4 separate regions of the Homo sapiens genome follow, and all the other regions are linked to region 3. The links are contacts of gene promoters, found by promoter capture Hi-C in blood cells and fetal thymus (Javierre and others, 2016). All regions are on one chromosome and are shown on one strand. The core of a region is centred on a gene start or on the middle of the fragment in contact, and the rest is flanking DNA. Distances in the headings are between cores, read along the strand shown.

Region 1 (3,392 bases), core at 409-2,908, 130 kb after region 3:
AGAGGCCACCCTGCAATGAGGCTGCTGGGCAGTGACAGAGCTAGGCCTGGGAACTGGGATCTGCGCAGAGGAATTTCCGGGGAGGTGGGTTGGGATAGTCATCTTAGGGGCAAGAGTGAGGGGTGGGCGTGCATCTCCTAGAGACCATCTCTATCCCGTAAATCCTCCTCCCTTCTCCCATGCTGAGACTTTCCTCCCTCTGGACAGGAAGACAGGTGGTGGAGAAAGCCCTTCGGAATGAATGTTTGGGGGTGGGAAGGGAGGAGGATTTAGGTTTGGAACTCTAAAAGGCACGCTTTCCCTGCAGCAAAAAGCTTGAGGATGGGCCCCAGGGAGGGGGTGGGGTTTTCTGGGGTGGAGACTGTGTCCATTCCTTTCTTTTCCGTGTAGTCTAAACTGGCCTTGCAGAAGCAACTCACCAAGACGTTGGCAGCCCGCTTCCTGCCCAGCCCGCTCCCCACCGCAGCCACTGCCATCTGTGCTCTGCCAGGGCCCCTGGCCCTCCGCCCTGCCCCTACAGCAGCCACTACCCTCTTCCCGGCTCCCATCCTGGGCCCAGCTCTGTTTCGCACCCCAGCAGGAGCTGTCCGCCCTGCCACAGGACCTATCGTCCTTGCCCCTTATTAGCCCTCATGGGGAGGCCAGAGCTGATTTCCCAATAGCCACTCCTTGTCTCCTCCTGTCCTGAGACACCTTGGTTTCCTACATGCCACAGGGACTGTGAACAGCTTCAGGGGTCCTGCCCGATCCAGAAAGAGCTGGGCTAGTTTTAAGGGCAGCTGCCTTCCAAGGACTGTCCCCACCCTCCTTTCGCAGGCCTTCCAGGGTTAATCCTAGGCTTGCCTGCATTTCCCACCCTGACAGACCCCAAAGATCTATGCAAAATCTCAGCCCCAGCCATGTGGTGCTCTCACTTTCCTCCACCCAAGACCCACATGGCCAGACTCTAGGAATCTTAGCTTCTACAAGCCATCCTCTCCTAGCCAGGGGACGACTCTCTGACCTCTATTCCTAGGCTTTGGGGCTTCACTGGAGATAGGGATGGGGTCTCTAGCTGCAGCAGGCTCAAGGCTGTCAGGACAAGGTGACCATGGGAGTGTGACAGAGGACCATGGAGGAGAAAGGGGGACCCAAAAGTCCTTCGATCAGCAGTGCTAAGGTGGGGCAGAGCCAAGGAGGTAGTGGGGCTGGTTCTGAAAGCTTTTGGGGGCTTCATCTGCTCTGAAGGGGTGGGACTAAGAGAGGAGGTGATGTTCTGGTTGGGCCCAGGGTTTTGTTTTAATCTTAAGTCTTCTGGGCATTCATGGGCCCAGTCTTTTTTTCTGTCTGAGAGTATCATTCTGTTGCCCAGGTTAGAGTGCAGTGGTGCAATCTTGGCTCACTGCATGCAGCCTCTGCCTCCCTGGTTCAAGTGATACTTGCTGATAAGCCCAGTCTTAATATTGAGGGAGTAACTCATCCCTCAGAAGCTCTTCTTCTTAGCCTTTCTCTGACTTCCTGAACCCCAACTCTTGGAGGGCGGGTGTGGGTCTCCCTCAGACTATGGACTCAGCTAACACCGAACCCCCCGCAGAGCTCCCAAAGGAAGAGCTTTCCCCTACAGCTTCCCACTCCAAACTGGTCCTAGCACTAAATTCAGCTTTCCCTTCTCCCAACCAGCCCCTGCCACTGTGAAGCTGAGTGTTGGGAGGCAGTCTCACATGCACTGGCAAGACCCATTTTCATGCTGTCAATGTCAATGTCACAAACTCCTTTCCACTGCAGCACTGCCCCCTCCCCACCCCACAATATGGGACCCTGCCAGTATCCCCCTGTATCTTTTTTTTGTTTTTTAAAGACATTTCCAATGGGAGAACCAGAAAAAGGGGGAGGGGAGGGAAACTTTTTGATAACAATTGTGGTTTTATTGTGTCCAACCAATGCATCAATAAATGAACTTGAAGCCCAAGCCTGTGTGTGTCCTAATTCCACTCACCCAGCCCCGGGCACCTGCCCCACTCACCTCTGGCTTTGAGAAGGGGCGTGTGTCGGTGGTTGCCTGGCTGCAGTGTCTCACCTAGGCTAGGTGTGCACCTTAGAAGCACAAAGCGGGCACAGTTGTGGGTAATAAGCTTACTCTGCAGGCCGCTGGGTGTGTGCCCACCCTCCTGAGCCCCGAAAGAGGACCTGTCAGCTCCTGAGAGGCTGCTACGGGTTTGCCTTGTTCTGTTCAGGCATCTGAGGTAAGAAGGAGGGGCCAGAGGAGCACCTTGTCCAGCCTTCACCATGAGAGCGGGCATATAAATATAAATACAGGTAACTTATAAATAGAAGTCCAGCTCTGAGCTGAAAACCACAGGCAGGATAAAGAGCAGCCTCCAAGAGCGAGGCTGGCGGGCTGGGCACTGAGCGGCCACTCTGGTGACTGACAGCAGGTAGTGCACTCCTGCCCCCTGGTGGCTGGAGGGAGCGGCAGATCCCAGCCTCCAGGGCTGGTTGGCATAGCACCTTAAAGAGGGAGAAGCCATTGGCTTTACGAAATCAAGAGAACTGGAAAGGATCTAGGAGATCATCTAAGCAACTCTGGTCATCTTACAGATGAGAAACTGATGCCCAGAGAGGGGAAAGGTCTTGCTGGGTCACAAAGTGGGCTGGTGACTCATAGCCCAGTTATTCTATTCCATCTCAACCAGTGAGGCCCATCTGCTCCCTGAGCAGGAAGAGGAAGTAAAACAATTGGTAGGGGTGGGGAATTTTTTTTTTTTTTCTTCGAGATGGAGTCTTGCTCTGTTGACCAGGCTGGAGTGCAGTGGCACGATCTCGGCTCACTGCAGCCTCCGCCTTCTGAGTTCAAGCAATTCTCCTGCCTCAGCCTCCCCGGGTAGCTGGGATTACAGGCATGTGCCACTACGCCCGGCTAACTTTTGTATTTTTGGCAGAGATGGGGTTTCACAATGTTGGCCAGGCTGGTCGTGAACTCCTGACCTCAAGTAATCGACCCGCCTTGGCCTCCCAAAGTGCTGGGATTACAGGGGTGAGCCACTGAGCCCAGCCAGGGGTGGGGGATTTAAAACAGAAAACTACACTCCCAGGAGGCCAACTTCTTCCAGCCAAGAAAAGGACAGGAGAAAGGTCAGGGTGAGGGATGAGGAGACGCCTAATGCCAGTATAGGAGCATATTTGTGTGTGCACAACTAAATGCATACACACAATACCTGGACACCCTTTTTCTGGAGTCCAGGCTGGTGCCATAAGTGTGTGTGTGTCGCTGATGGGAAGCCCAGAGGGTGGGGCCCCTACCTATAATAGGAACTCAGACCCAAGAAGGGACACTGCTGCGTGGTGACTCTGCTTCCTGTCTGGGGCAGCTGGAAGGGACAGTGACCCACAACTGCCCCAGGAGACAGTGGAGC
Region 2 (3,484 bases), core at 40-2,539, 170 kb after region 3:
ACCAGCCTGGCCAACATGGTGAAACCCTGTCTCTACTAAAAATACAAAAATTAGGCTGGGCGCGGTGGCTCATGCCTGTAATCTCACCACTTTGTGAGGTCAAAGCAGGTTGATCACCAGGTCAGGAGTTTGAGACCAGCCTGGCCAACATGGTGAAACCTCGTCTCTACTAAAATACAGAAATTAGCCAGGTGTGGTGGTGGGCGCCTGTAATCCCAGCTACTCGGGAGGCCGAGGCATGAGAATCGCTTGCACCCAGGAGGCGGAGGTTGCAGTGAGCCGAGATTGTCCCACTGTACTCCATCCTGGGCGACAGAGCAAGACTTTGTCTCAATTAAAAAAAATAATAAGAAGAAAGAAAAAAGAAAAATTAGCCAGGTGTGGTGGTGCACACCTGTAATCCCAGCTACTTGAACCCGGGAGGTGGAGGTTGCAGTGAGCCAAGATGGCGCTACTGCACTCCAGCCTGGGCAACAGAGTGAGACTCCATCCCTCCCCACTAAAAAAGCAAAGCATGGCCTCTTTGGGGATCTGCAGGGGGCTTGGTCTAGGGAAGATAAAGGGATAGGGTGCTAGAGGCAGGTGGTGGTGGAAGGCCGGCAAGTAGCTGGATCAGAGCTCACAGGCCATAAGGGCTGTATGTGGTAAGGAATATGAGCATTTTCCTATTATCTGGAAGTTCTTTTTTACCCACTGCAAAGTGTATGCTGACATTTATGTATGTCATACATTCCTATAAACACTCACAGATTTTAATTTCCCAAAAAGATTTAGCATGATATAAAGCACACCTATTGTCAATATTGTTGCTCACTGTGGGCTGTCAGAGATAAGAGGCCCTGACCTGTGAGCTGGGCGCGGTGGCTTACGCCTGTAATCCCAGCACTTTGGGAAGCCAAGGCGGGCAGATCACCTGAGCTCAGGAGTTCAAGACCACCCTGGGCAACATACAAAATACCAAAAAAATTGTACTCTCTACTAAAATACAAAAAAATTAGCTGAGCATGGTGGTGCATGCCTGTGGTCCAAGCTACTCAGGAGACTGAGGCACCAAAAACTCTTGAGCCCAGGAGGCAGAGGTTGCAGTGAGCTGAGATTGCGCCACTGTACTCCAGCTTGGGTTACAGAGTGCGACTCCATCTCAAAAATTAATTAATTAATTCAGTCAGTCTTCACTCTAAGTTGTCTGCCAAAAAATTTGCTGGGCATGGTGGCTCACGCCTGTAATCCCATCACTTTGGGAGAACAAGGTGGGCGGACCACAAGGTCAAGAGATTGAGACCATCCTGCCCAACATGGTGAAACCCCGTCTCTATGAAAAATACAAAAATTAGCTAGCCATGGTGGCGCACGCCTGTAGTCCCAGCTACTTGGGAGGCTGAGGCAGGAGAATCGCTTGAACTCGGGAGGCGGAGGTTGCAATGAGCTGAGATCGCACCACTGCACTCCAGCCTGGCGACAGAGCAAGACTTGTCTCAAAAAAAAAAAAAAAAAGAGGACCTGACCTGTGAATGGTGAACAGACCTACCATCTCTTCCACTAAGAAAATCTATTGGGATTTTGTTTTTTGTTTTGTTTTGTTTTTTGAGACGGAGTCTTGCTGTGTCACCCAGGCTGGAGTGCAGTGGCACCATCTCGACTCACTGCAACCTCCGCCTCCAGGGTTCAAGTGATTCTTCTGCCTCAGCCTCCCGAGTAGCTGGGACTACAGGTGTGCGCCACCACGCCCAGCTAATTTTTGTATTTTAAGTAGAGACGGGGTTTTACCATATTGGCCAGGCTGATCTGGAACTCCTGACTTCGTGATCCACCCACCTCGGCCTCCCAAAGGGCTGGAATTACAGGCGTGAGCCACCGCGCCCGGCCTTTTTTTTTTTTTTTTTTTTTTTAAGACTGAGCCCAGTCTGGGTGCAGTAGTGCCATCTTGGCTCACTGCAACCTCTGCCTCCAGGGTTCAAGCAATTCTCCTGCCTCAGCCTCCTGAGCAGCTGGGATTACAGGCATCCACCCCCATGCCTAGCTAATTTTTATATTTTTAGTAGAGACAGGGTTTCACCATGTTGGCCGGGCTGGTCTTGAACTCCTGACCGCAAGTGATCTACTGGCCTTGGCCTCCCAAAGTGCTGGGATTACAGGCGTGAGCCACTGTGCCTGGCCTTCCATTGCAACTTATTTATTTATTTAATTTTTTTTTGTTGTTATGTTTTTGAGACATGGTCTTACTCTGTCACCCAGGCTGGTGTGCAGTGGTGCAGTCTCAGCTCACGGCAACCTCCACCTCCCAGGTTCAAGAAATTCTCCTGCCTCAGCCTCCTGAGTAGCTGGGATTACAGGCACCTGCAGCCACACCCGGCTAATTTTTATATTTTTAGTAGAGACGGGGTTTCACCATGTTGGCCAGGCTGGTCTCAAACTCCTGACTTTGTGTGATCCGCCCATCTTGGCCTCCCAAAGTGTTGGGATGACAGGCGTGAGCCACCGCACCCAGCCGGAATTTAAAATAAGAATGATGGTACTATATAGATAATGCTGAGTCCTCTCCAGTTCAGTGTGGGGGTATTTGTGTTTAATAAACCTAGGTTCACCACAATAAACATGTTCCTCTGCCTAGCAGTTAAGAAGATCTATAAGCAGTCAAAAACTAGTGAAGAGGTTTTGTTTTGTTTTGAGACGGAGTCTCACTCTGTCGCCCAGGCTGGAGTGCAGTGGCGCGATCTCTGCTCACTGCAAGCTCCGCCTCCCGGGTTCACGCCATTCTCCTGCCTTAGCCTCCCAAGTAGCTGGGACTACAGGCACCTGCCACCACGCCCGGCTAATTTTATTTTATTTTATTTTTATTTTTATTTTTTTTAGTAGAGACGGGGTTTCACTTTGTTAGCCAGGATGATCTCGATCTCCTGACCTCGTGATCCACCCACCTTGGCCTCCCAAAGTGCTGGGATTACAGGCCTGAGCCACCACGGCCAGCCGTGAAGTTTTAAGTAGGGGCACTGTGGACCAGATTTTGGCTCTGGAAATATATTTGTGATAGGGGTGAGGAGGTTGGGGTTGGAGGGAGTAAGGAGAATGGAGATGGAAGGAAGACACAAAAGGTAGGAAAGGATTGGAGGGCACAGTCAGGGAGTTAGTTAGTGGTAGACTCAGCAGGAGTTGGTTGCTATTCAGATGTGTTGGGGAAAGTGACAGGCATAGCTGACTCGGGGTCATTCACTAAGCCAGGAGCCCAGGAAGACACACAGATGCAAGCAGAGAAACTCACTCTGGGCACGAGGTGGCTGTGGGATCACCTGGTGGGGGTCAGTCCTTCTGTGAAGCTTGGGCAGTCAGTCAGGGATGGGGCCACCAGACATGCTGTGGCCTTGCAAAAGTGCACAGAGCCAGTCAGGCAGGAGTTGGATTTTCCAGTTCTGCTGCTTTCGCTGCCATGTGATCGTGGGCAAGTTACTTGAACCACCTACATATGTTTTGTTGAGTATTAATTGGG
Region 3 (3,564 bases), core at 47-2,546:
CAAGACAGGTAAATTCTCCAGCTGAGGCTCCAGGATATGCCTGGTGTTGGCGTTATAGGCACAATGGCCACAGCTGTCTCCGGTGAGCTTTGATTCCACACAGGTTTTCAGTAGTGTCCCTTGAGGATGAGATGCAAAAGAAGAGGAGGTACTGGTTTGTGTTGAGAGGTAAGGGTGGGAGGAATCAGGAGCGGGCCCAGTCCATATTGAGAGGAGCAGAAAAAACAAATATTCCTGATCCATAGAGGGGGAGAGTGCAGAGTGGGGGTGGTTCTAGTCTTTATTTACGGATGGAGAGGGCCGAGGCAGAGGTTGTCCAGCTCTGTATTCCGCGTCAGAGAGAAGAGCTGACCCTGGCTAGGAGCAGGGGAAGGCAGAGGCAGAGATGGTCTTTGTGCCGGCCCCCGCACACACCAAGTAGGAGGTGGTGGCAGAAGCTCTCCCTTTGATCTCACCCAGCATCCTGCAGAGAACTCTTCCTGCAGCGCTTTCCTCACCTTCCCAATCACAGACGCCCCTGGCAATCGGGCGGACAGTGCAGACAAGGGCTTCTCCAGATCAGCGAGTTCACAGGACTGAGGCCTCGCGTGCATATTCATTCGCACCACGTTTTTTCTTTCCCAATTCTGCACACACAATCCTCTGCCTTCTTCCAACGCTCCACCACCCGCCTTCCCTCGGGGCGTCCGGAACCGGCGGTGACGCGGATGGCAGGGTTAGCCTTAAAAAGTTCCCGGCCGTAGGCTGGGCGCGGTGGCTCAGGCCTGTAATCTCAGCACTTTGAGAGGCCGAAGAGGGCGGATCACCTGAGGTCAGGAGTTCGAGACCAGCCTGGCCAACATGGCGAAACCCCCGTCTCTACTAAAAAATACAAAAATTAGTCGGGCGTGGTGGTGCGTGCCTATAATCCAGCTCCTCGGGAGGCTGAGGCAGGAGAATCGCTTGAACCCGGGAGGCAGAGGTTGCAGTGAGATCGCACCACTGCACTCCAGCCTGGGCGACAGAGTAAGACTCCGTCTCAAAAAAAAAAAAAAAGTTCCGGCCGGGCTCCGCCTCGCAGTCAGCCGGCTCCACCCTAAGCCCAAGTCCCAGGCAGCCACTGACTCCTCCCAGCGCTGCGAACTACAAGTCCCGCGATCCCTCGCGCGCTCCCTACCGCCACTCCCGCGTTCCTACCGGCGCCGCTGGGTAGGTCGGCCAAGAGTGCCTCCCATTGGTCTCCGCACTGTCAATCACCTGGGAGTATTGAGGGGCGGGGCGGAGGTGGAGATCCGGATCCGGAGCGGCTGAAAGGCGGAAGTGGAGGCCGGAGCCTGGGACACCGCCGGCGGGGAGAGAAGCGGATCCCGTCCGAGCCCCGGCCCCAAGTAACGCCGCCGCCCCGGAGCCGCCGTGAGTATGCTTGTCCCAGGACCTGGTGTCTCGCCTGCGTTGAAGCATCTCCAGGGCAGCCCTTCCTCCCGCCCAGCCCCAGTTTAGGGGGATACTGACCCCTCCCCCGACCCGTAGCCCCCTCTTGAGGGGCTCCCCAGGCGTCGGGCCATAGGAGGTGGGGAGCTTCTTTCCTTAGCTTACCTGCCTTTGGTGAGCCTTAAGGAAACCGCTATGACTGTCCTCTGGCCTGTCCATTCTAGTTGTGGGAGAGAGGTACCCTAAGTTCCGCTCCCCCTGCTTCCAGAATCGGAGGATCTTTGCTAGGTGTGAAGGAACCTGTCCCTCTTCTCTTTTAGAAGTGACAGGGAGTGCTGTCTGTCGCCGTTTTCCTTCCTCCTGTCCCACAAAACCAGTTGTCCCCTCTAGCCCTAGAGGAATATCTCGATTTCCTTTGGGGGAGGGGGGTCGTCTGGGTGAGACCGTTCCACACGCACAGAAGTGTGTGTGCGCTCCCGCAACTCCTTACTTCCTCTCTTTCCTCAAGCCAGAGAACCAACCAGGACCTCAGCTGAGTTTAAAGTCACTTACTAGAAATGAGCTGTTTTCCTGTTTTGCCCCTTCTGTCTCCCAGCCCTGTCCTCTAGTTATGTTGTTCTTTGAGTGTCTCTCTCTTTCTGCCTCTGAAGAATTTAGCTGAGGTTTGCTCAATCCTAGCTACAGATCACAGATCAGGGTGGATGTGCCCATTCATTATCTTCTTTCCCCTCCCCCCTTGCTCCAGGCTCAGCTCTGTCCTCCCAGAGCACGTGAGTGGTTTCCCAGCCGCCTCAAAGGGACTGCTTTTCTTGGGACTGCTGTCCGTGTGTCTATAGGGAGGAGAATAAGACCCAAAATGAGGAGTCTGGAATTGAAGGGCCATCTCTTTCCCACTCCCAAACACACACACATACACCTCCCTGAGCAACAGGTCCACACCACGCCAGGGTCTGTCTGCAATCCCTTCAGGGCTTGGACTTATTACTGAGGACTAAGTCAAGATCACAATGGCAGTTCTGGATTTTTAATTGTAGCCTGAGGAATTCCGATACATGCCAGAAAGTGCAGGTTCCCTCAACCATATTGACTGATCCTTGTCTGTTGCTTGGGGCTTAGGTGTGTGAAATAGCTGCTGTCTCAGACCAAGCTTTGTTATGTGGCCAAAGTACAGGCCGGAGACTGTACCTTAACGAGGAGTAGCCTGGCTCTGAGGCCATGACTGACCCTTGCTATCTACAGTGGAGGAAGGGACGGAAAGCCGTGCAGTTTGTGGGAACTTCTGTAGCTCTTCAGTGTTCTGGGCTACCTTTACCACCCTCGCTTGCCACTTAAAAGTGCTGTGTTTTTTGGCCTTGAGGTGTGTTTGAGGGCTTCTGGACAGTGGCTAGTATCTGATTCCTACAGTCTTTTGAGTAGAGCTAGGATGTACTTTCTTCACTTTTTTGTTTGTTTGTTTTTGAGATGGAGTCTTGCTCTGTCGCCCAGGCTGGAGTGCAGTGGCGTGATCTTGGCTCACTGCAACCTCTGCCTCCTGGGTTCAAGCAGTTCTCTTGCCTCAGCCTCCTGAGTAGCTGGGATTAACAGGCGCCTGCCACCACACCCGGCTAATTTTTGTATTTTTAGTAGAGATGGGGTTTCGCCATGTTGGCCGGGCTGGTCTCGAACTCCTGACTTCAGGTGATCCACCCGCCTCAGCCTCCCAAAGTGCTGAGATTACAGGTGTGAACCACCGTGCCCGGCCTACTTATTTCACTTTTTATCGGACAACAGAAGAAGCCTTCCTTATTAGGGTCAACAGCTGGATCACAGGCTCTGTATCTGTGTGGGTTCCTTTGGGGTTCATTGGAGACTTCTTCAACCAACCTAGTTTCTCTGATCTGGTCAGCCTGGGCATCTGAGGGGCAGGGCCAGAGAGGCCTGACTGCTCACTGGCCATTGGTCTCTGACCAGACTTAGGTCTTCAGGAGTAGACCGCAGTTTGTCACTCTTCAGGAGTGCTGGGATGAGGCCGACCAGCCTTCTGAGGAGACCTTCTTTTCTTTGTCTGGACATGCTCTCCCAGCTCTGACTCTGAAACGACTTTTTTTTTTTTTTTGGAGACAGAGCCTTGTTTTGTCACCCAGGCTGGAGTGCAGTGGCACAATCTTGGCTCAC
Region 4 (3,179 bases), core at 248-2,747, 150 kb after region 3:
GGAGTCATTCCCAGCATCTCTTGGTGAATCAGAGCTGTGAAGCTATTCTGCTTAGAAGTTGACCCAAGGATTTGGTGGGAGAACTGGATAAATTAGTTTTAATCTAAAAGCCTTGACACTAACAGGATGTGGGGGAAAACATAAACTTCTAGGACTTAGGAGACCTGTGCAGCCATCTTGGTTGCCTCACTAGCTCTTCCTCTGTTGGAGGATAGGTGAAATTATTGCCATAACCACCTCAGAAGGCCATTTGAAAATCTTGGCCAGGCGTGGTGGCTGACGCCTTTAATCCTACTAGCACTTTGAGAGGTCTAGGCAGGCGGATCATTTGCAGTCAGGAGTTTGAGACCAGTCTGGCCAACATGATGAAACCCCGTCTCTACTAAAAATACAAAAAATAGCTGGGCATGGTGGCACATGCCTGTAATCCCAGCTACTCGGGAGGCTAAGGCGAGAGAACACTTGAACCCAGGAGGCAGAGGCTGCAGTGAACCGAGTTCATGCCACTGCCCTCCAGCCTGGGCAAAAGAGTTAGACTCCATCTAAAAAAAAAAAAAAAAAAAAAAAATTGAAAATCTTCATTGGAAATGCTTCGAAAATCTGAAATAACACTAGAAATATATTGTAGTTGTTAATAGTACCATCAGGTCAGTTATGGCCAAGTCTATATTTTGCTGTGGTATTATATTTAAGAGTTTAATCTGAATTTAATTTTGTAGCCACAGAAAATAATCTGTAGTTTAATTTAGTGCATTGGGAATCCTTTTTTTTTTTAATTGGTCTAGGTGAAGCCAATTAATCCTAAGTCTTCTTTTCTCAGTACTGGTGTGTTTCAGTAGGTGCATGTTACAACCTCACTTGGCTATCAGATGAATTGACCCTGGCAGTGAGTGAGTGACAGATGCCACCACCAGATTGCCTTCAATTCCAGTGTTAACCAGCTCTTCTCCTTTTTTTCCAGTCCCACGCCTTTGACATCTCATCCTTCAGTCCCTTTGCTGTAAAGGCAACTTGAACAAGCTTCAGCCCTTTCTCAGACTTCCAGGGCAGGACTTGAATGGATTTGACACTGGAATTGTTCCTGATGCAGCCTTGTTCAGTTCTTGCTGCTGCCATGCTGGATTCCAAAGATCCACTCTTTCCTCGACTGGTCTCGCAGGGTCAGGCCCACTGGTTAAAGCTTGTTGTGTATTTGGTGGGGAGGTTCAAAATGAAGGAGGGACTCCAGTCCACTTTGGGCATTGGACCTGAAGGCAAAAAATAAGCGTTCAGTCTAAAAGCACTAAGTGCCCATTGTTTAGGCAGCTGTTAATCAGCCACGTTTCTATGAAAATAAGTCCTTTTCATGAGGCAGTTGTGTGGGAATAGCTAATTCTGGCCTGATGCTGTGCAGTGTGAGGTTAAAAACATGGCAACTTGTCACAACACAATTCTTCTTGTTCTTTTTGCTGTGGGCTGACTCTACATTACTTGCTTTGTTTGCTCTAGAATGGAATCTACTCACCATTTACTAAAATGAAATGCATTTCTTTGGGGAGGCAAAGTCCAGTTCACTAGGTCTTGCATCTTAAAGAGAAAGGAGCCCTGCTTCCTCTATGACTAATTGTTAGGAATGTCATTTAGCTTATTTAAATACCGATTTTGGTTCTGGGGTTGAATATTACATGTGGGGTGTACTGTGTGTCTTAGTTTAAACAAATTTATATGTATTGTCCATGTCTTACATATATTGTCCATGTCTTACTCCTCGTAGTACAGACTAATTTTCAAAATAGTTAGCAGTAAGCGGAGGCAAGCATTAGAGAGAAAGCTTGGCATAGTAGAAAGTGCACAAGCTTTGTATTCTGACAAACATGGGTAACATCCTGACCTCAGGCAAGTTATTTAACCCCCAGGCCTTATTTCCTCTTTTGAAAAATGGGAATAATGAAGTTCACCGGACTGTGTTTTATAGAGGATACTGTATGGAAAGTACCTGGCCTCAGTAGTTATTAGTAACTGTCCACCAAAATCATCCTTTGCATTTTTTCTAGAAGCCAGTCCTGAACTCCCCGACCTCCATAGGGGTAGTGTCTTAGGAAGGAGGAGACTAGGGGCACCTTTCAGCAGCCCTGTACATTATTTCACTTTCGACTAACAAGCTTTATACTGCTGACACAGTGTCTCCCCAGGTACCTAGATGTCTTCGTTTTCCTCAAAGATTTGTATATTCTTAGCCACTAGCCAACTGAAGAAGAGGCTAGATCTTCTCTGATGGAGTTTGGGCCTAATGTCTTACTTTGGAATTTGCTACTCCATTTCTTCACAGCAGTTTGACTAATCGAAATCCAGTTTTGGGGAAGTCCTTTGTTCAAATCCCTTGGCATGTCTGCTCTTAAAGGATAGGCTCCTGAGAGTTTTTATAAGCACTTTGCTTAATTTAGAGTTACAGGATGGTGAATACCATGTAGCAAGATTTCAGTTGGTTCTTTAAATCTTGCAATTGGGGGATCTTTCTTGAAGATTTTTCATAGCAGAAGGCCTCTTTTCAGCATTGTGATAGTTGGTATAGACAGTTACTCAAGCAGATTTATATCCATCACATTTCACAGCTGTCAGCATTTATAGGTCATTCCCATTTGCCTTCTCCTTCTAGCAGCCTTTTCATATTAGTAGGGCTTGCCAGGACAGTGATGGAGAAGAATGGAGAGGGAGGATCACCTCAATAAAAGGAGGGCGACTTTACCAGTTTGTAGTTTAAAATACTTAAGTAAATCACAAATCTCCCTAATGCAGATATCCGTAGACTCAAGCTGTAAATTGCTGTACCATCACCAAGGTTTAAGAACTAGGACTTTTGCCTCAACTTCAGGCAACCCCGAACTAGGTTCTTTTTTGCATGTGAACAACAGGAAAAGAAAGATGTTTCTCATAACAAAAATGATCAGGTACTTAGTTAATGTTGCAGTAATCATTTCAGTAAAGAATTATCTTTATCACTTGAGCAGTGGAATGATTTTGAGTATCTTGATAGAGGTTACTAGTTCTTTTAAAACACTGTTGGTCATGTCTGATTTGATTCTAGGTACTTGCTCGGGAATCTAATTCCCAATTATATAACATTGTTCCTTTAGGACAAAGTTTAGGAAAGTATACTTTGTCTAATGGCACAGTTTCAAAAAATAGATCTTAGAGGTAGG

What was found. The method cuts DNA at HindIII sites, captures the fragments that hold promoters and counts their contacts. A CHiCAGO score of 5 or more calls a contact.
Region 1: a contact is called between a fragment that was not itself captured here and the fragment with the promoter of RAB5C in region 3, in 5 of 17 cell types (fetal thymus, monocytes, erythroblasts and 2 more). The highest score is 8.1, in fetal thymus.
Region 2: a fragment that was not itself captured here is called in contact with the fragment with the promoter of RAB5C in region 3 in 1 of 17 cell types (monocytes); the score reaches 6.0 in monocytes.
Region 4: a contact is called between a fragment that was not itself captured here and the fragment with the promoter of RAB5C in region 3, in 3 of 17 cell types (erythroblasts, fetal thymus and monocytes). The highest score is 5.8, in erythroblasts.

What each region holds. Positions count from the first base shown.
Region 1 is chr17:42,024,132-42,027,523 of GRCh38, reverse strand. It overlaps NKIRAS2 (NFKB inhibitor interacting Ras like 2), which reads right to left. Exons shown (of 4, transcript NM_017595.6): 4 at 1,883-3,392. It overlaps ZNF385C (zinc finger protein 385C), which reads left to right. Exons shown (of 9, transcript NM_001392013.1): 9 at 391-1,948. The coding sequence ends at 627. Among named protein-coding and RNA genes, the nearest start is that of NKIRAS2, 5.7 kb to the right of the region's middle. RefSeq lists an enhancer at 2,538-2,587. The HindIII fragment of the contact is 911 bases long and covers 1,203-2,113 here.
Region 2 is chr17:41,978,063-41,981,546 of GRCh38, reverse strand. All of the region lies in intron 12 of DNAJC7 (DnaJ heat shock protein family (Hsp40) member C7), which reads left to right. Among named protein-coding and RNA genes, the nearest start is that of CNP, 13 kb to the right of the region's middle. The HindIII fragment of the contact is 4,055 bases long and covers 1-3,316 here.
Region 3 is chr17:42,152,721-42,156,284 of GRCh38, reverse strand. RAB5C (RAB5C, member RAS oncogene family) reads left to right here and starts at 1,296. Exons shown (of 6, transcript NM_004583.4): 1 at 1,296-1,392. RAB5C-AS1 (RAB5C antisense RNA 1) reads right to left here and starts at 1,885. Exons shown (of 3, transcript NR_187282.1): 1 at 1,576-1,885; 2 at 1,177-1,286; 3 at 1-517. RefSeq lists enhancers at 1,028-1,137, 1,020-1,314, 1,224-1,844. The HindIII fragment of the contact is 7,588 bases long and covers 1-2,559 here.
Region 4 is chr17:42,001,340-42,004,518 of GRCh38, reverse strand. All of the region lies in intron 1 of DNAJC7 (DnaJ heat shock protein family (Hsp40) member C7), which reads left to right. Among named protein-coding and RNA genes, the nearest start is that of DNAJC7, 15 kb to the left of the region's middle. The HindIII fragment of the contact is 630 bases long and covers 1,183-1,812 here.